Regions from separate parts of the Homo sapiens genome. Here regions 2, 3, 4 and 5 are each linked to region 1. The links are contacts of gene promoters, found by promoter capture Hi-C in human tissues and cell types (Jung and others, 2019). All regions are on one chromosome and are shown on one strand. The core of a region is centred on a gene start or on the middle of the fragment in contact, and the rest is flanking DNA. Distances in the headings are between cores, read along the strand shown. Region 1 holds the start of APP (amyloid beta precursor protein). Region 2 overlaps CYYR1 (cysteine and tyrosine rich 1). Region 3 has its middle 140 kb from the start of GABPA. Region 4 overlaps CYYR1-AS1 (CYYR1 antisense RNA 1). Region 5 overlaps APP (amyloid beta precursor protein).

Evidence for each region. The method cuts DNA at HindIII sites, captures the fragments that hold promoters and counts their contacts. A contact is called where the count stands out against the background at its distance.
Region 2: a contact is called between a fragment that was not itself captured here and the fragment with the promoter of APP in region 1, in 1 of the 25 tissues and cell types used here (mesenchymal stem cells).
Region 3: a fragment that was not itself captured here is called in contact with the fragment with the promoter of APP in region 1 in 7 of the 25 tissues and cell types used here (aorta, dorsolateral prefrontal cortex, heart left ventricle and 4 more).
Region 4: a contact is called between a fragment that was not itself captured here and the fragment with the promoter of APP in region 1, in 3 of the 25 tissues and cell types used here (mesenchymal stem cells, mesendoderm cells and thymus).
Region 5: a contact is called between a fragment that was not itself captured here and the fragment with the promoter of APP in region 1, in 4 of the 25 tissues and cell types used here (dorsolateral prefrontal cortex, lymphoblastoid cells, mesenchymal stem cells and 1 more).

Annotation. Positions count from the first base shown.
Region 1 is chr21:26,167,547-26,172,743 of GRCh38, forward strand. It overlaps APP (amyloid beta precursor protein), which reads right to left and starts at 3,224. Exons shown (of 18, transcript NM_000484.4): 1 at 3,018-3,224. The coding sequence starts at 3,074. It overlaps APP-DT (APP divergent transcript), which reads left to right and starts at 3,321. Exons shown (of 4, transcript NR_186396.1): 1 at 3,321-3,506. RefSeq lists enhancers at 1,727-1,936, 2,435-2,959 and silencers at 1,977-2,246, 2,747-3,576. The HindIII fragment of the contact is 4,835 bases long and covers 689-5,197 here.
Region 2 is chr21:26,483,962-26,489,158 of GRCh38, forward strand. The region is part of intron 2 of CYYR1 (cysteine and tyrosine rich 1); the gene reads right to left. All of the region lies in intron 1 of CYYR1-AS1 (CYYR1 antisense RNA 1), which reads left to right. Among named protein-coding and RNA genes, the nearest start is that of CYYR1-AS1, 81 kb to the left of the region's middle. The HindIII fragment of the contact is 7,460 bases long and covers 1-5,197 here.
Region 3 is chr21:25,868,860-25,874,056 of GRCh38, forward strand. No RefSeq gene overlaps it. Among named protein-coding and RNA genes, the nearest start is that of GABPA, 140 kb to the left of the region's middle. The HindIII fragment of the contact is 8,437 bases long and covers 1-5,197 here.
Region 4 is chr21:26,450,546-26,455,742 of GRCh38, forward strand. All of the region lies in intron 1 of CYYR1-AS1 (CYYR1 antisense RNA 1), which reads left to right. Among named protein-coding and RNA genes, the nearest start is that of CYYR1-AS1, 47 kb to the left of the region's middle. The HindIII fragment of the contact is 4,645 bases long and covers 1-4,288 here.
Region 5 is chr21:25,910,314-25,915,510 of GRCh38, forward strand. APP (amyloid beta precursor protein) reads right to left here. Exons shown (of 18, transcript NM_000484.4): 14 at 1,428-1,649. Among named protein-coding and RNA genes, the nearest start is that of GABPA, 180 kb to the left of the region's middle. The HindIII fragment of the contact is 8,779 bases long and covers 1-5,197 here.

The DNA.
Region 1 (5,197 bases), core at 1,974-4,473:
TTCATACAAATATCTGTAGAAGACTCTAGTATGCAAAAAACAGTAACATAAAATAGAGATCCTCTAGCAACAAGACTTAACATAAAGACAACCTCTCCCATTCCTTCAAACCAATATTGTTGATCACGTTATTTCTTTTTAATTTTTTTGAATCAGCCATTCCTCATTTAACCTCGTGAACTTGCATGTTCCTTTTCATTTCCTCAGTCAGGACCAGTATTATTCCATCTAGTAACTTCTCCGCAGTACTAATAGCCTTGCAAATGTCGTTCAGGAGCCTCTGCTGGTTCCGGTGACAAGAGAAAAGCTTCTGCAGTCTGCCAGTTATCATGGTTTCTCATCGATTAGCAAGAACCGTGACTCCTTACAGATCACCATCAAACCTGAGCTTTACTATTCTGTGTGTCGGCTTCTACCTTTAGCGAGGTACTAGTCAGTAGCAGCAGGTTTCCATAAACTATAAATTAGCACTACCACAAAGGTAAGATGATTGTGACTAGGTTAAACCCTCAACAGAGGGAAATAAAACTTAAGAGGAAGCTAGATTTAAAAATAAATAAATAAATAAATATTAGGGTAGTGAAACATCATATAGATTAGGGTTTGTTAAACTCACACCTCTATCAACATACCAGCCAAAATCATCAACCCAGATAATAACCATGTTTCCCCCGATAGCCAAGGCCCCATTATCATTGCCCTTATTCATTTCTTTTCTACAGCCACCTGCAGCAGACCTATTTTCTAAGCTCTATAAAAGACAGTCAACTCGTAATTACATCTTTTCAGTGGACACAGAGAGAACCAGATAAACCACCCTCAAACCTCAGTAGACTGAATTACCTACCCTTCTACCAACACTTCGCAAAATGGCATAATGTGAATCTCACCTCCACCCTTTAAAGGAGTTAACAATAGCTACTGAAAAGGTCCCAAAAGATGGCAGAAAGAGCATATTAATGCAATTAAACAGACCAAAAACTAAATTCGAATCTGCCTACATGCTTCCTCTTTTTATACAGAAAGAAATATTGCTCAACAAAGTTACATATTTAAGTTTTGACAAAAGCTTCAAAAATACGGTTATCATATGCTTTTAATTCCTTAAATGTATGGTTTTTAATCTGTAGTAAGACCATTCGGGAAAACTGGAATAATTCTACAAATAAATGTAAGTAAGTCATGAGAGAAATCAGAATTCTCTTAGTTAAGTGCATTTTTTTAAAACATGGAAAACGAAATTCTTTAACTCTTAAAACAACCTGTCTTAACTAGCCCTAAGGTGATTCCTGAGCCACTTGTGGGTAAAAATCAGAAGAGAAAAAAGTTCAATGACCTTGCAAATTAGAAACTAAAAAACTAATGGTGTGATAGTCTGTACAGCCTCAGTGGAATTACAGGAAAACATCTGCCCGGAAATTGCTTTTTTTCTTTTGGAAAATTACTAGGAGGCTGGGGGAAAAGAGGGGAAAAACGGGTAAGGAAGGTTGCAAATGTTAAGATGCCAAACAGGAACCCAACCGAAGTCCGAAGTGAAATACAGCCTCCTCTGGCCCAACTGTCATGCAAACAACTTCTAAGCATCTTCAGATGTAAAGAAAAACAGTCATTGTGCACAGGCGTTAGCTGAATGTTCGAGAGTTGGATGAATGGGGAAGACTTGTTATACACCTAGTGGTGGGTGGATTTCACTAGGCTGCAGCCTCCACACAGCTTTTCTTTGCTGCACTGCAGAGGCGCCATCTTCTCCGTCTTAATCTTCACTCAATTCGATCCTTTTATCTGCACCCTAAAAAAAAGACCCTTCGGACCCTCCCCAGCATCCTGTGCCCCCAGGGGAACTAAACCAGAGTCCCCAGAGCTGCCAGGGAAGAGGCCGCGCCTTAATCAGACAAACGCCTCCTTGGATGCACAGGACAGAGCCCGTGCCTCCCCACCATCCGCCACTGCCCTTTCCAGACGCACATCCCACTCTCCGCCTTATTTCCTCCCCGCCAAGGACTTTACAGCCCAGCACAGAATTAAGCCTCGGAGGTGATCCGAGGGTGGGAAGCAGAGGGGCCCCGAGGCTCCGCCAGAAGCCCCGGCAGCGTCTCTGCCCCCTCCCAGGCGGACGCGCAGCCCCGGGAAGGGAGCCGGGCGGGAGCCTCGGTGGCGCACTGAGACTAACGCGGCTCGGCCCACGGCGAGGGCGGGGTGTCGCGGCTTTTGTTCCCGCGGACCTTCTGCCTCTCAGACAGAGCTTAGGGTGCGAGCGAACTCCCGGGACGTCCAGACTTGGGGAAGGCGCGGGGTGGCTATGGGTCTCCGACCCCTCCCATTTCTCGCAAGTTACACAAAAGGGAGACGCGGACATGCACAAAGTTTGCCTGTGGAAGGCGGTGCGCGACCCCGACGCCGGCTCGGGCTAGGGTCGCACCCAGGCTGCCGCCGCCAGCAGCCGCGAAAAGAGGTTGGAGCAAGGAAGGGGGATGGGGGTGAGAGAGGAAGGTGAAACGAGGCGGAGAACGCAGGGAAAAGCGAGGGGCTCCTAGCTTCCTGGGCTGTCCCGACTCCTCCTCCTCCTCCCCAGGGCCCAAGAGAAAGGAAAGGGCAACGATTCAAGAGCGAAGGACTGGCTTTAGGGACGCTGCGTTTTCGGTTTTCCCCACGTGCTCCTTCCCCCTTCCCCCCTGTCTGAATGTCTCTCGCCTCCCCCGACCCCCGCTTCCAAGGCAGGGACTAAGTCGGGGTCTGGGCTCAGGGTCGCCCCCTACCCTTCTCGCCCCGGGCTGGCGCGGAACCAGGGAGACCAGCGCCTCGCCCGCTCCCTCTCAGCGGGCCGGAGCGCGACTCCCTGGGGCAGGGCTGGGCCGAAAGCGGGGATGCGCTGGACGTCCGCAAGCGGGGGCGGAGAGGAGAGGGGTCCCATTGACGGACCCCCGGCTTCTCTGCATTAAAGACTTGGGTTAAGGTCTTGGGGGGTATCGCGTCCCCACCGTGCAGCCTCCCCCCGCCTTCCGAGGCGCGGCACCCACCTCCAGCGCCCGAGCCGTCCAGGCGGCCAGCAGGAGCAGTGCCAAACCGGGCAGCATCGCGACCCTGCGCGGGGCACCGAGTGCGCTGCTGTGCGAGTGGGATCCGCCGCGTCCTTGCTCTGCCCGCGCCGCCACCGCCGCCGTCTCCCGGGGCCCCCGCGCACGCTCCTCCGCGTGCTCTCGCCTACCGCTGCCGAGGAAACTGACGGAGCCCGAGCGCGGCGGCGGGGCTCAGAGCCAGGCGAGTCAGCTGATCCGGCCCACCCCGCTCGGCACCCGAGAGAGACCCCTAGCGGCGCCGCCGGGGAACTGCGCCCGCTCGCGCCGGGAGGGGCCCTCGCGCCCCGCGCCCACAGGTGCACGCGCCCTTGGCGCCGCCTGCACCCCACGCGCCCCCTCCGCTCCCCGGCCGACGGCCCACCTGGGCTTCGTGAACAGTGGGAGGGAGAGTCTGGGGCCAGGAGAGGGACGGTGCAGGATCAGGGAAAGGTGAGTCCTAGGACGCTGAGGCTCTAGAAAAGTCGAGAGCGCTCCTGCTCGTCCCCGTGAGCTTGAATCATCCGACCCCGCAGGCCTCCCGGGGGTGTCGTATAAAGGACTGCTGCTAGGGTGCGTTTTTATCCGCATTTCGTTTTTTCTCTCGGTTTGGAGAGGTGGGGCAGGCGTTTCTGGAAGAGAATGAGAACGAGTGAAGCTTAAAGGAAATAGGATTTTCTTTGCTTGTTGAGACAGCAAAACCTCATTTTTTAACCCCCAACGTCAAAAGCAGGCACGAGCAACCTGGAATTTCTATCTTTAGAACGAACCAAAGGAGCAAGGCGCAGGACCTGGCAAAGAAGCGGCCAACCCATTTACTTCTTCTTGAAAGCAGGGTTCTGGGCTTGGGTTTTGTTTCTTTCTTATATTTTTGTTTGTTTTTGGTTTTGTTTTGTTAAAGGGGGTGGTCAGTGTGGATTTTGCGGGGCGGGGGGTCTTTTTTTGTTGTTAAGCAGGGATGTAACATCCATCTGAGTTGGGGAAGAAGGAAAAATTAGGAGAGATCATTCGTATTCGACCCCCGTAAATGAGGACTTCTGACCTCAAACGCTGCCCTTGTTCTTCATTGTGTCTGTCCTGAATTATAGAAATGAACCTTCTGCCATGCCACTTTCTCCTGGATTAAACACAAACCGTCCACTGTCCAGTTAGTGTCCAGATAGTTTAGAATGCTCTAGAACTGCCCAGATATATCCCCTGCTCTTGACCTGAAGTAGCATTTAGTTACCAAGCCACAGCCCACTCCACACAGGGCTTGGAGCGAAGGACTGAAGCCAGGGAGTGCTCTGGCCCTTCTGAGGGCTGCACTGCAGCCTGCCTTCTCTCCCTTGCTCATTGCGCTGACAAGGGTGCCTAGGCCCGGGAAGGATGGCTCAGCCAGCGGGGTACAGACTTCCTTCCTGGGAAGTCATTTCTGTACCAGCTCCCCTAAATGTTGTCTTGTGTGTCTTTTCCCGCACTAGGCATTCAGTCTTGACTCTTGGATTACTTTTGCCCCTGAATGTCCTTTGGATGTCCTCAACAAATAAGGACAAATATTTATTGTCATGCAGTATTTGTTTATACGCTTCATGTCATTTACTTCCTACAAAAGCCAAAGAGGCTGTTACTATTATTCCTATTTATACATCAGGAAAATGAAGCTAATGAACTCCCAAATCTAATAGCAAGTAAGTGACATGAAGCTGGGACAGCAGGGAAAAGCCTAAAGTGACAGGACAAACCCAGTTGTTCACTTTCTGCACCACATTTACCCACCGCAATTCCGTATTTGTTCCGGGTCTGCATGAGCAAATAAGGCAAAAAAGAAGGTATCTGAATGCAAAGAGAAACGTGGTCCAAAGCTACAAATCTTGCAGAGTCCACTGCAAAATGCAAACGTGAGACCCTTTGTTACATTATTAAGAATTTTAAGGCCGGGCCTGGTGGCTCATGCCTGTAATCCCAGCACTTTAGGAGGCCCAGGTGGGCAGATCACCTGAGGTCAGGAGTTCTAGACCAGCCTGGCCAACATGGTGAAACCCCCATCTCTACTAAAAATGCAAAAATTAGCCGAGCGTGGTTACTCCTGCCTGTAATCCCAGCTACTCCAGAGGCTGAGGCAGGAGAATCGCTTGAACCTGGGAGGCGGAGGTTGCAGTGAG
Region 2 (5,197 bases), core at 1,753-4,252, 320 kb after region 1:
TTATTCTCAGTGGTACCTGAACACCTATCCTATACTTTTCTGAGACTGGCCATAATTTCTTACCCCAAACCACTGGGGCCAGATCTGTCTCATAGTCAGAAATTTTCAGATTTTGTAAAGAAAATACATACACTACGCATTGTGAAATATTCCCAGGGGCAGCTAGGGCAGCATGTTGAGAACATTTATATTCCTACAGCGAAGGTGGGAATATTAACGCTGTTAGATTATATGGGGACTACACAAAAGCCCAAGGTTGGTTCAGGTCAAGTCTGGCCACCAACTGACCTTTATCTGCAATTCTGAAATCCACAGAAAACTCTGAAAACTGAAAGTGCACATAAGGGATTGTGAAGCTGTATTTATACTTTCCAGAGGATATTTTCTCTCTAACACTTTTCCCCACCTACATACAAAAATAGAATGCCATTAAGAATATCAATAATCTCCTTTAAAATACTTCTATAGGCATTTTTACTTAGTTATTAAGAAGGCAGAATGTGAGACATATTTGGATGTGTTGCTATTAGTAATTAAATAATAGCAGAGTCCAGTAGTTTAATAAATAAATCTTTTCAAGAAAAAAAGATCTATGAAAGGAGATAATTCGAAGTGAGAAAATTAAAAGTAATCTGGAAACTTCCTTTATTGTAAGTTTCAGGTCCAAATAAGATTAAACTGGAGGACTTAATTTATGTTCCAGAAATAATCAATGGCCCAGTTATTCAGGCATAGAGTTTCCAAACTATGTGTTATGGAAGCTGTTAAGATATCGAATTGGGACATATTTATATTCATTAATTCTTTTCTTAAATAGAGGAAAGTAGAAAATTAGTCACATTTTGTTTCCTTGTTGGCAGCTCCAGCAAAAGTGCCTGCTCTTGAGGTCAATAATGAGGTTGCAACTAATGTATTAAATTAGTTTTTTTGATTAAATCATGAAGTTGGTGCCCTTGATCCTTTGATACCCATTAGCAATCGTAAATTAGTTATTTAAGACATGGCAAGTATAAAATTTACAGCATTATTTACTTTGTAATTAATAAAAAGAAACAATAAACAAATAGTAACTTTCCTGCATATAAATAATTGGCTCAGTCAACTGTTGGAAAGTGAGAAGCTATTAATTTGAAAAATCTGGCATCATTAAAACCTTGAAAAAATTTCAGGGAATGTATTTTTTTTAAAACAACGCCTTGCAAGGTTTGCACATTTTCCTCTCTCCTTTTAAACTTTTATTTTAAAATAATTATAAATTCACGGGAAGTGTAAAAAGAGTACAGAGAGAGCTCACGTACCCTTCACCCAGTTTCCCCAGATGGTTACATCTTAAGTAACAATGGCACAACATGAAAAGCAGGAAATTGACATTACTATAAGGTGTATTTATAGTTCCATGTCATCTGAACACATGCACAGAGTCATATAACCACTACAGCAAGCAAGATACAAAACTATTCCATCATCACAAAATATTTCCCTTTCGCTATTACTTTGCTTTATGGTCATATCCAACATGCCTTCTCTCTGCCATCAATAACCCCGGGTATCAGCAATCTGTTCTCCGTTTCTGTAATTTAGTCATTTCAAGAAGATTATACAAATGGAATCATACAGCATGTGAGTTTTGGAGATAGTCTTTTTTCCCTCAGCGTAATGCCTTTGGAATCCATTCCAGTTTCTGCATGTATCAGTAGTTCATTCCTAGATGAGCAAGCAGTCCATGATATGGCTATAACACACTTTGTTTAACCATTATTTATTGTAGGGCATTTTGGTTTGACAAATAAAGTTGCTATAAACAATCATGTACAGATTTTTGTGTGGACATAAGTATTCATTTCTCTGCAATAAATGCCCAGAAGTGCAATTACTGGGATGTACGATAAATGTATGTTTGAGTTTTAAAGAAACTTCCAAGTTATTTACATTCCTACCAGCAAGGTATGAGAGATCCTCTCTGCGTCCTTGCCAGTATCTAGTTTTATAATCTGTTTTTTAGCTGTTTTAACGGATAAAGCATTAAGTGTAGTGGTATTTCATCATGGCCTTAATTTGCATTCCCGTAATGGCTAGCAAGGTTGAACATGTTTTCGAAAGCTTATTTGCCATTCATCTTCTTCAGTGAAATGTCCACCTGAGTCTTTTGCCCATATTCTAATTGGATTGCTTGGTTATTTTACTGTTGAGTTTTTGAGAATTATTTGAGTCCTTTACAAAATATGTAGTTTGCGAATATTTTTACTGGTCTGTAGCACATCTTTTCATTCTCCCAACAGGGTCGTTCACAGAACAAAAGTTTTTAAATAAAGTCCAATCTATCATTTTTTTTCTTTTATGGATTGTGCTTTGGGGTCATACGTGGGAACTTTTCATGAAGCCCTAGGTCCTGAAGACTTTCTCCTATGCTTCTTTCTAAAAGACTGATTATTTTACATTTGATATTTAAACCTATGATCTATTTTTGTTTAATTTCTGTACGAGGTATTAGATTTAGGTTGAGGTTCATTATTACCAGATTATTTTGCCTGTGGATAGCCAGCTACTTCAGTACCATTTATTAAAAGCATTCCTCATCCCCCCATCGCATTGCTTTTGCACCTTTGTCAAAAATCAGTTGGCCTGTGCAGGACTGTTTCTAGGTTCTAATTTAGCTAATTTTTTTTTCTTTTTTTGCAAAATGAGATTTTATAATCAAGATATTAAATGTATCTATGGTGGCTGAAATAATATGAAACTGTCTTTTATAACAAAGCTCAGAGATAATATATTTTATTCCATAAATCGCTTTTCATGAGTAAAAAAAGATTCTGATAATGTTGCCATGTTGCAGTAACACTTTTAGGCTTAGCACTGCTATACAGCAGCTTACTAGTTATCTTGATGTGGTTTTACTATTAATATTAAATAATATTTAAGGAAAATAGCAGATATGAAAAGTACGCCAGAGTAATATTTATCTTCTTCTCGGATACGACCCAATTTACAAATGCATTTTATAAAACTATAAATCAAAGGGCTTATGAATATTCTATGTAATAATTTAGTAACAGCAGTCCCAATAAAGTAGAAAAATTAAAAAGGCCATGCGGATATTTGATATCTATATTTGATACCACACGGATATTTTACACCTATACAAAAAGTGGGGAAAATTCTAGAATATTTTTGTTAGGATAAACTTCCATATGGAAATAAGAGTTTGAAATAAAATACCTTTACCTTTGAAATAAGTCAAAGGTAAAAGTATCAGAAGAGAGAGTTCTCTGGAAAAAGTAACCATAGCTTCAAAAGAATAAACTTAAAGTAGGTTTATTTCTTATTAAAATAAAAAAATTATAAGTGAAGCTAAAGCATTTTTATCTTTTGTTAAAGAAGGTAATATTTAGTCGACTTATTTATTTGTGATGATACACATGAGATGAATTAAGCAATGATAAAAATCCTATTCCTACTACAGCGCTGAAAGTCGACTACATACATGAGAATAAATCTTGGCAAAATTCTATATCAGATCATCCTACTTCCTCAATAATTCATTCTTTTGGCCAATTCATTAAAATACTGTAATACCCTTGAATACAATGTTTTATTATAAATCATTGGCAATTTTAGTAACACTTTGACTTGCTTAACTTAAAAATAATGCATTTTCTTCTCTGTTGCTTAAATAAATACAGAAAATAATAGAAAAACAAACTCAATGGAGTATCATTTTCAATATTAACAGTATTTACTTATATTAATCGTAGGATCTCAGAACTATCTCTATTTCTATTTTTATCTCTATGAGTCTGGTTACATGTACATCTATGTATACGTGTATCAGATAAGAAAACCATAATATCGAATAGTTAAATTGTTATTAAATATTGTTACTACTCCAAGTGTAAAATGCTTAGGAGGGTAGGAAGACCAATCCATGTAATTTTTCCAGTAAGTCTACATTACTTGCAAAAAAAAAAAAAAATCTGTAAAATCCAAATATGCTAATAATGTTTTTTTATTTTGCTTTTTTTTTTTCTTTCATTCTGGTGACTCCCCTTAATAACTTCACTCAATATATCCTCTTTCTTGGGGCTTTATAGATAACTTCTTTCTGTTAGCCTCATGATAATAAAACTGGAAACTAATATCTCTTTGAATGAATAAATTTACGTGATTTATTGACTCAAGCCCCATGACAGAGACAATTGTGTAACCCAATATTCATTTTCTACATTTTCCTTGATAAAAGAAGTCTGAGGGTTGACTAAAATAAAGACTACATCTTCCCCTACTTCCTTCCTTCCTTCCTTCCTTCCTTCCTTCCTTCCTTCCTTCCAGACAAGGTCTAACTGCGTCACCCAGGCTGGAGTGCAGTGGCTCACTGAAGTCTCAACCTCTGGGCTCAAGTGATTCTCCCACCTCAGCCTCCCTAGTAGCTGGCACTATGGGCACACGTCACCATTACCAGCTAATTTTGTAATTTTTGTAGAGACAGGATTTCGCTATGTTGCCAGGCTGGTCTCCAACTCCTGAGGTAAAGCAATCTGCCTGCCTCAGCCTCCCAAAGTGCTGGGATTACAGGCATGAGCCACCATGCCTGGCGAGTACTACATCTTCCAGGTAGCCTTAAAGCTAGTGTTTTGTTTTGTTTTGTTTTTTACATGTTGAGTTTTGGAAAATAAGTTGTAATAAAATATTTTGTGTCAATTCTCAGGAAACCTCCTTAAAAGATGGCTGGAATGGGATTTTTCTCCCATTTTCTGTCTTACCTTCCTTTCAGCTTTCTGAAATAGGAGTGTAATGGCTGAGCTCTAGTCTCCAAGGTGGACCATGAAGACAAGAGCCATATCCTAGGGATGGAAGAGGTATGAGTTTGATGGAGTTTGTATCCTTAATAACAACATGGAGATGCTGTATCAACTCCCATTTCCTTTGCACGAGAAACAAACTAGTTTAAAAAAAATTATTAAAGTCTCTGTTATTCTAGTTTGAGTGTGAATGTATGTGTGTGTGATATGCTACCCAACCTAATCTTACCTAATACAATTCCTTTGCCAAAATTGCTATACAGTTTAAACAAAAGCAAATATTTAATGTGGAAATGGCAGTTTTAAGGAACATACAGGTACTCTGGGATCCTGTAGAAAAGTTCTAAAAAAGCATATCAGAACCAGGAAAGCAAGAGACTGCATTCAATTTCATTAATTGG
Region 3 (5,197 bases), core at 1,080-3,579, 300 kb before region 1:
GAGGCCACGCTCAGGCGGTAATGTGAGTGATGGGGAGCGACTGTAACTACAGATGAAGCTTCACCTGCTGGCCTGCTGCTCGCTTCCCTCTGTGTGGCCCTGGTTCCAGAGATTCCTGGTCTACAGGAACTCGTCTCTCTTAGGTCTTTTTTCTTGAAGAGGGATTTGCTTTCCCAAACTTTTTTTTTTTTGAGACAGAGTCTCCTTGCCCAGGCTGGAGTACAGAGGTGCAACCTTGGCTCACTGCAACCTTGACTTGCCAGGTTCAAGTGATCCTCCCACCTCAGCCTCCTGAGTAGCTGGGACTACAGGTGGGCACCACCATGCTGGGCTAATTTTTTGTATTTTTAGTAGAGACAGGGTTTCACCATGTTGCCCAGGCTGGTCTTGAACTCCTGGGTTCAAGTGATCTGCCCACCTCAGCCTCCCAAAGTACTGAGGTTACAGGCATGAGCCACCGTGCCCGACCTTTCTGGAATTTTTTTTTTTTTTTTTTTTTTTTGAGATGGAGTCTCACTCAGTCGCCCACGCTGGAGTGTAGTGGTGCGTTCTTGGCTCGCTGCAAGCTCCGCCTCCTGGGTTCACACCATTCTCCTGCCTCAGCCTCCCGAGTAGCTGGTGCCGCCATCACGCCCGGCTAATTTTTGTTTTTTTTGGTATTTTTAGTAGAGACGGGGTTTCACCATGTTAGCCAGGATGGTCTCGATCTCCTGACCTCGTGATCCACCCGCCTCAGTCTCCCAAAGAGCTGGGATTACAGGTGTGAACCACCGCGTCTGGCCCTTTCTGGAATTCTTGAATCTTTAATAAGATTCTAGGCTATATGTGCCTTTGGTTGAATTCTCCTGAGTTGTTTCTATTTCTCTGAGTTTGCCATTTTTCTTCCTCTATTAAGTATCTGTATTCCAGGGTTTTGTGTAATTCACCAAAGCTTTTATAATAATTTCTAAGAACAATTTTGATCAAAGACCTAAGAAGACAAATAAAATTCTTCAGTAATAGGTATAATTTTCATCAAATGATTGCTTTCCTTTTTTTATTGTTAGGGCTCTATTGCTAAACGTGAAAGGGGAGCTGTCTCATAGATAAAACCCTCTGGTGTTCTGAAGGATGAATGGGAACAGTGGAGGCAATTTATCAGAAGCCTGTTTTTCTCTGCCAGGTCCTCCAGCCCATTTCCCCCAGGTCCATGGAGAGGAAACTCTCATAGGAAACTGACATAAACATAGACATTTCACTTTGGTCCAGCCAATCTACCATTAAGAATATTCAAATCCATTTATGAATGGATCTTGAGAAAGAAAAAATATATTGCTATGTTGGTTATTTTGTAAACGCCCAATGGGTTCACTTTGCTTGCCTAAACAGAGCCAATTTATCAAGACAGGGGAATTACAAAGGAGAAAGAATAGTTCACGCAGTGCCAGCTTTGTGGGAGACAAGAGTTTTATTGTTACTCACATCAGTCTCCCTGAGCATTCAGGGACTGGTGTTTCGAAGGATAATTTGGTGTGTAGGGACTCGAAGTGGGGAGTGCTGATTGGTTGGGTTAAAGATGAAATCATAGGAGGTCAAAGTGAGTTCTTGCTGTCTTCTGTTCCTGGGTGGGATTGCAGAATTGGTTGAGCCAGATTACCGGTCTGGGTGGTGTCAGCTGGTGCGTCGAGTGCAGGGTCTGCAAAATATCTCAAGCACTGATCTTAGGTTTTACAGTAGTGATGTTAGTCCCAGGAGCAATTTGGGGAGGTTCAGACTCTTGGAGCTGGAGGTCGCATGGCCCCTAAACTGTAGTTTCTAATCTTGTAGTTAATATGTTAGTCTTGGGAAAGGGTTATTATCAATTTTGTTTCAGAGTTAAACTATAAACTAAATTTATTCCCAAGGTTAGTTCAGCCTATGCCAAGGAATGAACAAGAACAGCTTGAAGGTTAGAAGCAAGATGGAGTCAGTTAGGTTTGATCTCTTTCACTGTCATAGTTTCCTCAGTTATAATTTTTGCAAAAGCAGTTTCACTTTCTAGTGTCTAATATTTTAGTAAGTCCTTCTCCTTCCTCCCATTTTCCTACCTTTTTGATCCTTTCTCTGTGCTACTTGCCAAAGTGTGCCAATTTCAATTCACTCATTTATTCAACAACTACTCCTTGAGCATCATCATGCACAAGGCACTAGACTAAACACTAAGGATTCATCCGTGAAGAAGACAGACAAAAAAAAATCTTGTCTTTGCGAAGTTTACGTTCTTGTGAGAGGAAGGCAATAAGCAAATAAAAGAGTAAAACATATGAGTCAGATGGTGCCCAGGAGAAAAGTGATGAAGAGAAGGATATATGAAATGCTTCTTCGTATGCTGTTAGGGCAGGGGAGAGAGTTAAGTTTTGGCAACCATGGTCAGGAAAAGCATCATCAAAATGGTGACATTTGATCAAAGACCTAAGAAGACAAGGGAATAAGGTGAACAGATAACCAGTGCGTTGCGATTTTTGGGTAGGGCTCAGTGGTGAATGCTCCTGTCTGCTCCACACGGCATCCACAGAGGCGTGGTGGTGGCAGGTGCCTGTAGTCCCAGCTACTCGGGAGGCTGAGGCAGGAAAATGGCGTGAACCCGGGAGGCGGAGCTTGCAGTGAGCCGAGATCGCGCCACTGCACTCCAGCCTGGGCGACAGAGCGAGACTCCTTCTCAAAAAAAAAAAAAAAAAAAAAAAAAAAAGATGGTCCTAATTTCAACACCTTGTATGTTAAGTCTCTGGATAAGCATTACCACCTTTAACAGTGGTTTATAAGTAAAAATTGTATTTTGCCACAAATCTGCAATTTGGGTAGGGCTCAGTGAGGAATGCTCCTGTCTCCACACAGCACTCAACAGAGGCAGCTGAGCCGAAGGATGGGGGTATGTTTCCAAGATGGCGCCCTCATGTGGCTGGTGAGTTGGTGTTGGCTGTCAGCTTGGGAGTTTGGCTGGGGGCCTCAGTTCCTCTCCATGTGCAGTGTGCACCTGTATGTGCAGGAATGGAGGAATGGAGTTATCATTTACTGAGAAGTGAAAGGCTAAAGGAGGAGCAAGACATCTGGAGTCAGATGTTGGACACATTAAGCGTGAGATGTCTGCTAAATATTCAGCAGGCAACTGGGAACCTGGAGTTCAGAATGGAAATTATAAAAAGAAATTGCCCTACCAAGGGAATTAACATCCTTGTCTTTCATTACTAGTTAATTATGCTGAGCTGACCAAGACAGGAAATGGCCATTACCCATACTTATCCCTAATAGAATGTGTATATTTATCCAAATGTGGTAGTTTTAAAACAAGTTCTTTGACATTCTTCCCATCAAGAGATGGAATCTATGTCCCCTTTCCTTGACCTAGGCAGGCATTTGTGGTTGCCTTGGAACCAACTGGGTATGACAGAAGTAATGTTATGGAACTTTTGAGGGTGAGGCATAAAAGGCAATACAGTTTCTGCCTCTCTCTTTGGGATGTTCATCCTTGAAACCCAGCCACCATGCTCTGAGAAAGCCAGGGCCACATGGAGGTGCACATTGCTTGTGGAGAGGAACTGAGGACCCCAGCCGAACTCCCAAGCTGACAGCCAACACCAACTCACCAGCCACATGAGGGCGCCATCTTGGAAACACATTCCTCATCCTTCAGTTCAGCTGCCTCTGTGAGTGCTGTGTGGAGACAGGAGCGTTCCTCACTGAGCCCTACTCAAATTGCAGATCTGTGGCAAAATACAATTTGTACTGTATAAACCGCTGTTAAAGGTGGTAATGCTTATCCAGAGACCTAACATACAAGGTGTTGAAATTAGGACCATCTTTTTTTTGTTTTTGAGAGGGAGTCTTGCTCTGTCGCCTAGGCTGGAGTACAGTGGCGCGATCTCGGCTCACTGCAAGCTCCGCCTCCCGGGTTCACGCCATTTTCCTGTCTCAGCTTCCCGAGTAGCTGGGACTACAGGCGCCCGCCACCACGCCAGGCTATTTTTTAAATTATTTTTAGTAGAGACGGGGTTTCACCGTGTTAGCCAGGATGGTCTCGATCTTCTGACCTCGTGATCTGCCCGCCTCGGCCTCCCAAAGTGCTGAGATTGCAGGCGTGAGCCACCGCGCCCGGCCAGGATCATCTTCTAAAAAATTTTTTTTTAGCCATTGTATTGCTAGTGCCTGGCATTGTCTGAGTATATGCAGTAGGCACGCAATAGCTGTTTTAAATGAATGAACCAAGATGAAACATCTGTGACCATCTTACAAATGGAAGGAGGGAAGGTTGAAAACACTGAGAAAGTCTCCTAGTTTGGAGGAATAGAGTTCAGCTCAGGAAGAACGTAGTTCAGGGTAATTTTTTTTTTTTTTTTTTTTTAAGACAGAGTCTTGCTCTGTTGCCCAGGCTGGAGTGCAGTGGCATGATCTCGGTTCACTGCAACCTCCGCCTCCTGGATTCAAGCGATTCTCATGCCTCAGGCTCCAGAGTAGCTGGACTTACAGGCACATGCCACCAAGCCCGAGTATTTTTTGTGTTTTTAGTAGACACAGGGTTTCCCCATGTTGGCCAGGCTGATCTTGAACTAACCTCAAGTGATCCACTCGCCTTGGCCTCCTAAAGTGCTGGGGTTACAGGCATGAGCCACCGCACCCGGCCAGGGTAGTTAAAAATTGTATGCTCTGAATGTGTAAAACAGGTTGTCCAAGAAATCTTATGGACAATAAAAGTCATTTACTTTGGAAATTATTCTAAAACATTTTGAAATAGAGCAATGTTAGAAATGAGATGCTGCCTCTGCTAGTTGCCTCAGAGCTGGTTAGTTAGCAGAGGATAGATTTTCTCGGTTTAATAGCCATAAAGGATCTTCATATTCTGATTTGATCTGCAAATGTATTCAACAAAGTGACTGCATGATGAAAGCAAGAAAATTATATAAATAATTTCCACTCCAATTTTTCGTATATGCCCAAAGTCATACCAGTGTAGAGCCTTAACATGTTTGTATGTAGGGGACAGGGAACAGAAGCGTATTAATAGACACAGGGCCATTCAAGGATCCTCTACAAGACAGTCATTCCTGATTGACTAGCCTAAATCAGAAAATGGTGTGTATGGTTAGGCCAAAATTAGTCTCTTCTTTTTTTTTTTTTTTTTGAGACAGGTCTGGCTCTGTCACCTAGGCTGGAGTGCAGTGGCACAATTTCGTCTCACTGCAGC
Region 4 (5,197 bases), core at 716-3,215, 280 kb after region 1:
TGACAAATAAGACGGTATCAATATGTCTTATGAGAATAGCATCAGCACTTTAACTGAACTGACTTTGGTATAAGTTTCTCCCATAGAAATTTGAATAAAGAGTGGGGATGGCGTTTAATGTATTGCATTATTTTTTATCACATTCAGCAACAAAGAAGAACCTTAGCCTGGCTTTGCCATGTTTCTTCTGATGGAGTTATTTTTGAATCCTTTTTCTCCATGTACTTTTTAGATGCCAGAGCCCAAGTGAAGCACAGTTTGGTCCTGAGTTTGATGTGAGATGGCATCCAAAAACTAGGCTGATAGCTTTCATTTAAGATATAGTGACTCCAGCCGGCATCTGGCCTTCTCCTCTGGTGGAGTGAGATCCAGCCTAGGCTAAATGACACACTAGACTTTTAACGTTTTTCTGTCCAAGGAAGCTTTTTCTGAGTAAATTGTAGCAAAAGACATATCAACACCTATAACTATTTCCTTTGGAAGCATCTACCCCTTGTGATTCTCTCTCCTTCTACTCCCTTCCATGACTCTCCTGAGTTCAAAGAATAAGGCCAATTTGCTTTTAGAGCTAGCCTTATGAGTGAACTGCCTGTAACATTTTGGGAGGAGGTGGTAAAGGAGTAAGAAACCAACATGTCCTGCATACTTACTATCTAGCACTACACAGAACTTTTCCTTTCATCATCATAACAAGAGTATGAGTGTATTAGTCAGAGTTCTTCAGAAAATATATCCAATAGGGTATATATGTGTGTGTGTGTGTGTGTGTGTGTGTGTGTGTATGTGTGTGTTTGTGTGTATAGAGAGAGAGACTCATTTTTAAAGAATTAGCTTATGTGAACTTGTGGGTTGGCAAGTCCCTATTCTGTAAGGCAGGCCAGTAGTCTGAAAACTCAGGCAGAGTTTCTATGTTGGAGTCTTGAAGCAGAATTGCTTCTTCCTCAGGAATCCTCATTCTTTCTTCTTTAGACCTTCAACTGATTGGATGAGGCCCACCAACACTATGGAACATAATCTTTATTTAAAGTCAACTGATTGTAAATGTTAATCACATCCACAAGTACCTTCACAGCAACATCAAGGCTAGTGTTTGACCAAACAGCTGGGCACCATAGTCTTGCCGAGTTGACACGTGGAGTCAGCCATCACAGATAGCTCTTGAAAGCACAATCAAAGCACCAGATCATACTAAGTGGCTTACAATTTGCAAGTGAGGAAATTGGGCTCAAAGAAATTATGTAACTTCAACAAGGTCTTGTAAGTGGTTGAGCTGAGATTCAAATCCAATTCTGACTAACTTCAAAGTCCACATGTGGCCACTGCACGCACACACACACACACACACACACACACACACACTAACATCTCATATCCTTTCTAGACAAATCCCTGGAAAAATTTATGTCGTAGAAGAGGAAAACTAACCAAGACCATCTTTCATTATCATTGGTATTGAAAGCGGTTATGCACCACAGGGTTGGGGGAAATTAAGTCAGAAAAAAGGCAGCTGTCACAGATAAACCAAAACCTCAAAATTTTGTTTGAGCTATATCTTTTAAAAAAAATTCCACTGTTTTTAGACAAATAAAAATTGTTTAGGGATCGGTAGTTGAGACTGAATCACATGGAGAGAGCTTAAGAGAAAAATTATTAACCATATCAGTTTGTTTAGCTACTCCAAATGTATACTTGGAAGCAGTAGTCCACATCCTTCTCAAGCATGTTAGAGCTTTATAAGCTCCATTTTCCTTCCCTTCTCCTTTTTTAGGGAAATTAGAATGTTTTGTTTTTCATTGGCTGTATCTTAGGAAATAGGATGGTTTAGTAATTTCAATATTGGGTTCAATTAATTTTCATTCTGTATGTATTGAAGATCTTGTGTATTTTTTTATGTCACTCCGCAATATAAAATGGGAAATTTTAGGCAGGATCAAAATAGCATTACTTCCTTAGAATATAATCCTTGAACCCCTAACTCATTCTATTTTGGCTCAGAGTTAGAAAGCAACATTGTTATTTCAGAAAAAGAAGCTTGATTATAAAGATAGCAGTTTTCTGAAAAATGTCCATGTTTATCTTGTTTTACTTTGACTCGTCTTACAGGAGTAGCTTTTAGAGAAAGCTAAAAAATGTCATGAACTATTGACTCAAGGAAAACACTAATCTTATAATGAAAGTATTGCTATTTTTAGATTTGAGGCTCTCATTGATTGTTATATGAGGGTAAGAGATTAAAATCTAGTAACTGACATGGACATTTGATTGATTTGTAAGTTTAATTTTGTAATTGACTAATTTGGGAATGAGCAATGATTTTACATTCTTAAATATAAAATGGATTCTCTATATTTTGATACCATATCCACATCCATCTCCTATTATGAATGCTTAAATAAGTATCAGACACAGAGCTAATTACTGGTCATGGGAAATGTAGAGATAATTGAATATTCATGGTGATAGACTAAACATTTCTAACTTTAGACGCATACAGACTCCTTAAATTCATTTCAAAGGGGAAGAACCACATGCAGGACAGTTGTCCAGGTGGCCTTGGACTGACCCAGTTCTCCCCACCTTCTCACTGGTAGTTCCTTTTTTTCTATTAAAATTTTTTTTTGACACTCAAACAGACTTGCATTAAAGTTGTTCTTAATAATAACTGTAAAATGTGCTGGGACTGTAAAATCCTGAGATAGGGAGGGACTGGCTGAAATGGCCTTGGTTCTATTCCAGTCCTCCACTAGAAGCAGCATGTCTTCCAAAGCTTAAGCCCAGTAATTCACCTGACCCTCGGGTATAAACTCAGGGCAGCCTGCTGTTCAGGGTCCCTCAGCTGCCGTGCAAGTGGAGAGTCACACGACACGGTCAAGACTCAATTTGTCCCAAGCAGCTTTCCTGAGACTCGGGGAACTGGCTTATAATGAATCCTAGGCTTTTGCTCTCCTTTGCTGCCTGTCTGTAAGTAATAAATCTGCTTCATGTGACTTGTTCTGTATGAGTGTGTTCCATCTCACTGGACTCAGAGAAAATGGTAAGCTGTGTACAGTGAGCCTGCTTCACAAAGAAAAATAATATTTACCATTTTTCCTTTAGCTTTGCTCAAAGTTACTTTCAAAAGATATTAAATATCCCAGAAATTGCAATAGCGTTAGGAGGTGGAAGGCCTCATGTGCTATGGGACAGTTCTGGAAGAAAACTAACAAAATATTCCATAAGAACAGTCGTAAAAACCACGGCCTTCTCAGCCCTCACTTTTATGTTATCTGACGCAACCCTTCTTGTCCCTATCCACTCTCTATAAAATGAATGAAATCAGCAGTGAATCTTTGTGTAGTATCATATGGGAGCATCCAGAAGCGTAGACAGTACCATACAAATAACCCAATTCTCCAGTCCAGGAAATGGCAAACAGGCTAGTAGAAAATTCCAAAGGGAAGACCCAAGGACTTTTTAAAATGAAAATAAATTTTTGAGACTTAATCTTGTGCTGGGAAGTTTTATTTCTGGGTGTAATTTTGGTGAATAGGCTAAGAAGGGCTGGTTAGAGTTTTGCCAGCATTCTCCAAGCACAAGGAGACATTTTGAGGTAAAAAAATATCTCCAGGGAACCATAATACCCTATTTTGAATTACTCCCAATTTTATTCCAGTACCACCTCTCTGGCAGCCATCCTCAGCTGCTACTCAACAACCCAGCTACACCTCTAACTCCTTCAAGATCCATGGCAGTGACCCGATTTCCAAGATTTTCTTTTGTGTTTATCATCTACACATATCTATTAGAGATGTGCTAGAGGAAGCACTCTGCTGGGATGTTAATGTATATTGTGATGGGACGGATAACCATGACCTAATGTGAAATGGTATCAGGCTGTGTATTTGCAAATTTGCCTTAATCCTATATCTTTGTTTCACACCTCTCTCTCTCATGTGCCACCATCAAGCATCCGTAACAGGAGCATAAAAATGCAGTTATAGAAATCAGAGCATTTTGGAATCTTAAGAGCAATATATTAATACAAGTATTATATATTGCAGCAAAGGAATTTATCTTACACAATTTTGTCATTTGAAACAAACACACATTATAGTAACTCTCTGCATATATATATGTACACACACATATATAATATAATATATATATAATATGTTTAAGGTTGGCTAGGCTAAGCTATGAGATTTGGTAGGTTAGGTGTATTAAATGCATTTTCTTGTTTTTAACTTTTATTTTACTTTAAGTTCTGGGATGCACATGCAGGTTTGTTACACAGGTATACGTGTGCCATGGTGGTCTGCTGCACCCATCAACCTGTCATCTAGGTTTTAAGCTCTGCATTTCAACTTAACAATATTTTCAACTTACAGTGGGTTTATCTGGATGTAGATAGTATCATAAGTTGATGAGCATCTATAAGTATGTACTATATATGTATACGTATATATCACTCTTTGCCTCAGTATCTTCCACTGACTTCCCAATTCATTCAGAATAAAATCCAAAATCCTTACCGTGGCTTACACGGCTTTACATGACCTGTGTTCTGATACTTACGTGACCTTATCTTCATCTTCTCTCCCTTTCACTCATGATGCTTCAGCCACATTGGCCTCCTTGCTCTTCCTCAAATAGGCTGAGTATTCCCCTACCTCAGAGGATTAGCTTTTGCTGTTTCCTCTTCCTGGTATACCTTTGCCCTAGATACTGGCAAGTCTCATTCCCTTACTTCTTTCAGTTCTCTGCTTAAATAGTACTATATCAAGAGTTCCTTGATCATCTTACCAAAAACCCAGCCTTTTTGTTTCCCAATCCTGTTACTCTCTTTCCTTTGAGCTTGCTTTTTTCTCCCAGAGCTTTTTCACAATTGATGCACTATTTATTTGTTTATGTTTTCTTCTTCTCCATTAGAACGAAACTCCAGGGAGTTTTCTTGTTCCCTGAAGAATCTCCAGCTTCTAGGACCACGGCTGACACATAGTAACGTGCTCAGTCAGTATTTGTTGAATGAATGAAGGAATATTAACAAAGTTAGGCCTAGATAGCACAACTCATCTCCTTGTTTACTGAATTGATGATCTATGTCTTTATAAAGGGCTTTTATGACTGTGAAATAGTTGAGCCTTGCTACATCCAACCAACTAACCAATAGACAAGTGAGTAAAGGATAGATGTATAACTAATAGTTTTAATAAACAAA
Region 5 (5,197 bases), core at 727-3,226, 260 kb before region 1:
TACAGACGGGGTTTCACCATGTTAGCCAGGATGGTCTCGATCTCCTGACCTTGCGATCTGCCCACCTCAGCCTCCCTAAGTCCTGCGATTACAGGCGTGACCCACGATGCCTGGCCTATAAGGTATATTATAAATATGAAATCTCCATCAACATTTGCTGCTTTGATAAAGAAAATCAGGTAAAGTGCTGTTGTGTTCTTAAAAAACATGTTATTTGTATCTAGAAATCAAGGTGTTTGTGTGTAATTGTATACTTCTGAACATGTAGAAAAAGATAAAAGAAGCTGAAAGATATTCTTGCCTGAACAGGTGTTTCTGCTAAGAAATCCCTGTGAAAAAGGATGCCATCTACTGCTCAAATTTGTTGATAGAGAAGAATCTTACTTCTCTGAGGTACCAAAGGAAAAAACATTTAGAGCAATGTGCTCCTTAATTTTGGCAGCTGCCTTAAATTTAATTTTCTAAACACAAATTAAGTCTTAAGCAAAATTAAATTTTATTTATATGTAGTTCTCTATCTTTGCCTTTAACATTTAATTCAATCTGAAATTTCATGTAAGAATAAGTAGCCAGTGAAGACTACTTTGGTGCCTGTCAAATCTGCATCTCTGCAGGCCCTCAAAACTCCTCTCTGTTGGTAAACTGTAATTTTTCCTTATTTCACTATCTATCTGCTTTTTTGGAAGGTGGCATTCTAGGTCATTACGTCATAAACACAAGTTGAATTTTGTGCTTCCATTCCAGAGGGAACAATATACCTCACAGTTAAAAAACATTTCTAAAAAATTCCTACCAAAAGTCATCACTTAAGAACTTAGTCTCCTGGTGCCTCCATTTCCTCATTTGAAAAAGTCATAAACATAATAATATGATATACAGTACATGCTCTTTATGTATCCACTTTTGTTATATAATGTACCATTTTATATTAAGAAGAGGAACTGGAAAATAAAAATTAGAAGAATGTTATTGCCACACATTTTCCTTGTGAAGAACTGCCTCTTCAATAATACACTGTGGCTCCCCTTCGTCCGGGAGTGTTCACTCGAAGGATAATATTCCCTAGAATGCAAACCTGGACATGTGCGAAACAAGAGGCCCTTTACCTGCAAATGTTATGTAAATCATTACCATTTTGTTTTGCCACCTATACAATGGAGTTGTTGTCTTTTCCAACAATTGGCAGTTTACATGCTTTGCAGCATAAAAAATATAAAGAATAATTTACACAGATATATTATTTTAATGACATAGTAACTCCTAGTATTTACTTTTTAAAGTAAAATTATAATGAAAATATTTATGACTACATCAAAAAAAATTCACCACTCAAGAACATACAAAAGATAACTCTCTCTCTTGCACACACGTTATGTATGTGTATATATACCTCCCAGAACGCCCTTGCTGGCTCAGGGGACTCTTACCTTCGTTTTCTGTGTTGGCTGGCACAGAGTCAGCCCCAAAAGAATGCCACGGCTGGAGATCGTCCAGGCTGAACTCTCCATTCACGGGAAGGAGCTCCACGGTGGTTTTCGTTTCGGTCAAAGATGGCATGAGAGCATCGTTTCCGTAACTGATCCTTGGTTCACTAATCATGTTGGCCAAGACGTCATCTGAATAGTTTTGCTCTTTCTGAAGCAGCTCATCTAAACCAAACAAAACCATCTCTTTGGTGAGTAACAACAATCACAACAGCAGCAGCAGCAGCAGCCACCATTTACTTCTGCCAGGCAAGACTTCAACTGCTTTCACGTGCATGATCGCGTTTAGAGCCATGACATAGGTACCATTATCATCTCCCTTTTACAGATGTGAAAACTGAGGCACATGGCATTCAAGCTACTTATGCAAAGTCGCAGCTCACAAGAGCTGCTGGCAGGACTGCAGGCAGGAGCATGGCAGCCGGCCAATGTGCTGCAGCGTGGCACTGCTAGAGGTGAAAGGCCACAGGGGCTCAGCTGCCATTTCCTCCTGACACAGTTAGACGTCCCTAGTATACAATGATCGCACAGGAATAAACGCCAGGCTTTGGTGTGGCGGCAGTAAGTGAGGCACAATCTCATTCAAGCTGAAAGACAACAGACAATCTCCTGTCTTGCCTTGCACACTTGCAAGGATAAGAAAAGCATTAAAGGGCCAGTAGTTTGCTACCTTCTTGAATAGTTTTCACTGTCTTGCCTTGAAAAAAAATCTGCATTTCCTAAATGCTCCTCTTGTGCTGCATGACCTATGCTCTGAGGCAACAAGGAAACTGTTCCCTTGCCCTTCCAGATGTAGCCCTGCAGACAGACATCCAGCCTTCTCTGGACTTAACCACCCCTGGCTCCCCGTATTTCCCAATGTGAGCAGACACCAAATATCCTGCCTTTCTCCTCTGTTGCTTCCCTTTCCAAAGAATGCTGTCAGTGCCGCCTACCCCCCCACTTTAAAAATTGATTAAACAAGAATCAGCTTTATGGAACATCATTGACTTATCTTTTCTTACTGGAAAAAGAGAGCTTAGAATATAATCTTGTATCATGTGTAATTACTGCTTTAAAAACTGACCCCAGGATATGAAGATTTGTGAGTCTTCTCTTATGTCACCAAAGATTCACCATGTTTTTCTCTGATTTTTACAAATTAGAGACCGACAGACAGCACTGCACTATTAACAATAATATTTGATTAACCAAAATGTCTCATTTTCCAATCATAGCTGTGTCAAGAGTTTGCTGTAGTATATATTTCAGACACATCACTGGTTAGTTTTATTGCTAGAGAAAATGAAAATAAGATCAGGATTTAAATTTGATTTGTAACATTTTACAATCATCTTTCAAATTCTCTTTTCTATTGACAAAAAATGTATCTGAAAAATTAAAATTCTGTTCAAATATACCCATTAAAATAATTTGATGGAATAGCATTAAAGCTTGTGATTAATATCTTTTCATGTAGTCAGTTTTATTGCAAGTGATTTTAAATGATGGAAGTCCCAAGCAAATTAGTCCTTTTGAAGTCTAATCTGAGTTATAATATATCCCTATTCACTGTGGCACCGTTTCTAAAATTCAATACTTGATGCCCATGATGACCTTTCCCTTACAGATAAAAGACCCTCATTAGATTTCCTCCAACTTTTTCATGTTTTACAAAGCCATAGGTAGCGGCTAATAACTTAGCCAATGTCTGATTAAATAAATTAAATGAGCATTTCTTTTATATAAATCTTTTGCTTGTGACTGTTAAGCACTTACTATGCTAAAGAGAGGATATTCTGGAATACTAATAATTATTGGTGCATACACATTCATCTTGACAGGAAATAACCTTTGCCAGCGAGAAAGCTCTTGAACTCCCCAGGGGCTACGCTGTTCTTGGGTCTGTGGTATCTACTATCACTTACCATGTCCTTTATTTGGAAATGTTCTCACTGTTTCGCATACACAGTACTTATCTTCTTCCCTGTGACATCTCTGAATAACTCTTTTTACTCTTTTTTTCTCCTCTCTTCATCCCTGTCATTTTCTTCTTGTATCTCTTTCCATCTCTTTCTACAATTCTCCCCTTTGGAAATCCCATCGACTCTTGAAACTCTAAAGATCTCCTACCTTTGGGTGAATCTGAAATGTACTTCCCCAGCTTTGACTTCTCCCTCCCACTCAAATTTGTATATTTCCAACAGTTTGCTGGAGATACCAACTTAGGGCTCCCTCCTGATCCATGCACTTGGTAGGTACACAACTGTACTCAAGGTCCCTGGCTTTCCCTTCCACCTTTCCTGTTTTCTAATCATGGCAGAACCATTCTCCCTCCCAGTCACAGGCTTGAATCCTTCAGAGCCATCCAGGACTCCCTGTATTTCTTCGTGTCCAGTACTCACACTACCGACAAATCCTTTTGCATTCTATTTCTGAATTCTCTCAGCCATTTCCTGCTTGCTTTTCCACACCACCCTCACCGCCCCTAGGAATATGATTACTTTTCGCCTGGATAATTACGATAGTCTCCTCACTGCTTGCTATGGTCTGAATGTCCCCCAAAGTCATGTGTTGAAACTTAAATCTCCACTGTGGTAGTAGTGAGAGATGGGGTCTTCTGGAAATCAAGTCATGACAGTTCCACCCCGTGCCCCCGAATGGACTACTGCCTTCTAAAAGGGCTAGAGGAAACCAGCACAGGCCCCTTTATGTGCATCTGCCATGTGAGAACAGTTTTTGCTGCCTCTGGAGGATGCAGCCACAAGGCGCCTTTTTTTTTTTTTTTTTTTTTTGAGACGGAGTCTTGCTCTGTCGCCCAGGCTGGAGTGCAGTGGCGCAATCTCGGCTCACTGCAAGCTCCGCCTCCCGGGTTGACGCCATTCTCCTGCCTCAGCCTCCCGAGTAGCTGGGACTACAGGCGCCCGCCACCACGCCCGGCTAATTTTTTGTAGTTTTAGTAGAGACGGGGTTTCACCGTGTTAGCCAGGATGGTCTCCATCTCCTGACTTCGTGATCCGCCCGCCTCGGCTTCCCAAAGTGCTGGGATTACAGGCGTGAGCCACTGCACCCGGCTTGATCCTGGGCTTCTCAGCCTCCAGAATTGTAGTATTTCTATTGTTTGTTTATAAATTACCCAGTCTCTGGTATCATGATAACAGCACAAACCGACTGAGACAATGGTCTCCCTGCTGGTTTTTATTTTACGTTTGGTTCCTGAAATCTTAGTTCCTGACACACAAGAATGGCTCCCTCTTTGTTTCAGTGGGTCTTCATTTTCTACCGAATTAATTCCAACTCCTTTGCCAGATGCTGAAGGCCCTCTGTGGTCTGGGCCCACCCCGTATTTCTAGCCATGGAACTCACAGCTCCAGCTGTCTACACCACACCTCTCTCTCAGGCTAAATAGCTTGGGGTATTCCCACAAAAGACCATGCATACCCATTCTGACACTTTTGTTTTCTATTCCTGCTATCTTGGAAGCCCATCTCTGCTCATCTACGTTATTTGAACTCTTTAGAGCCCAGCTCAAATGCCCTCTCCTGTATGACTCTCCTCTCCCAAGGCAGGCATTATTAATCTGATGGGACAAGGAGACTGAGGCTGGGAGAAAGGAACCAATCTCTTCAAGACCCAATGGCCAGTAAGCACCAGTGCTGAAATCCAAGTCCTGGGCTTCATAACACCAGCCTTCCCATGTTCAGCCCCTATCTATTTCAGCCTCTCGTATTATC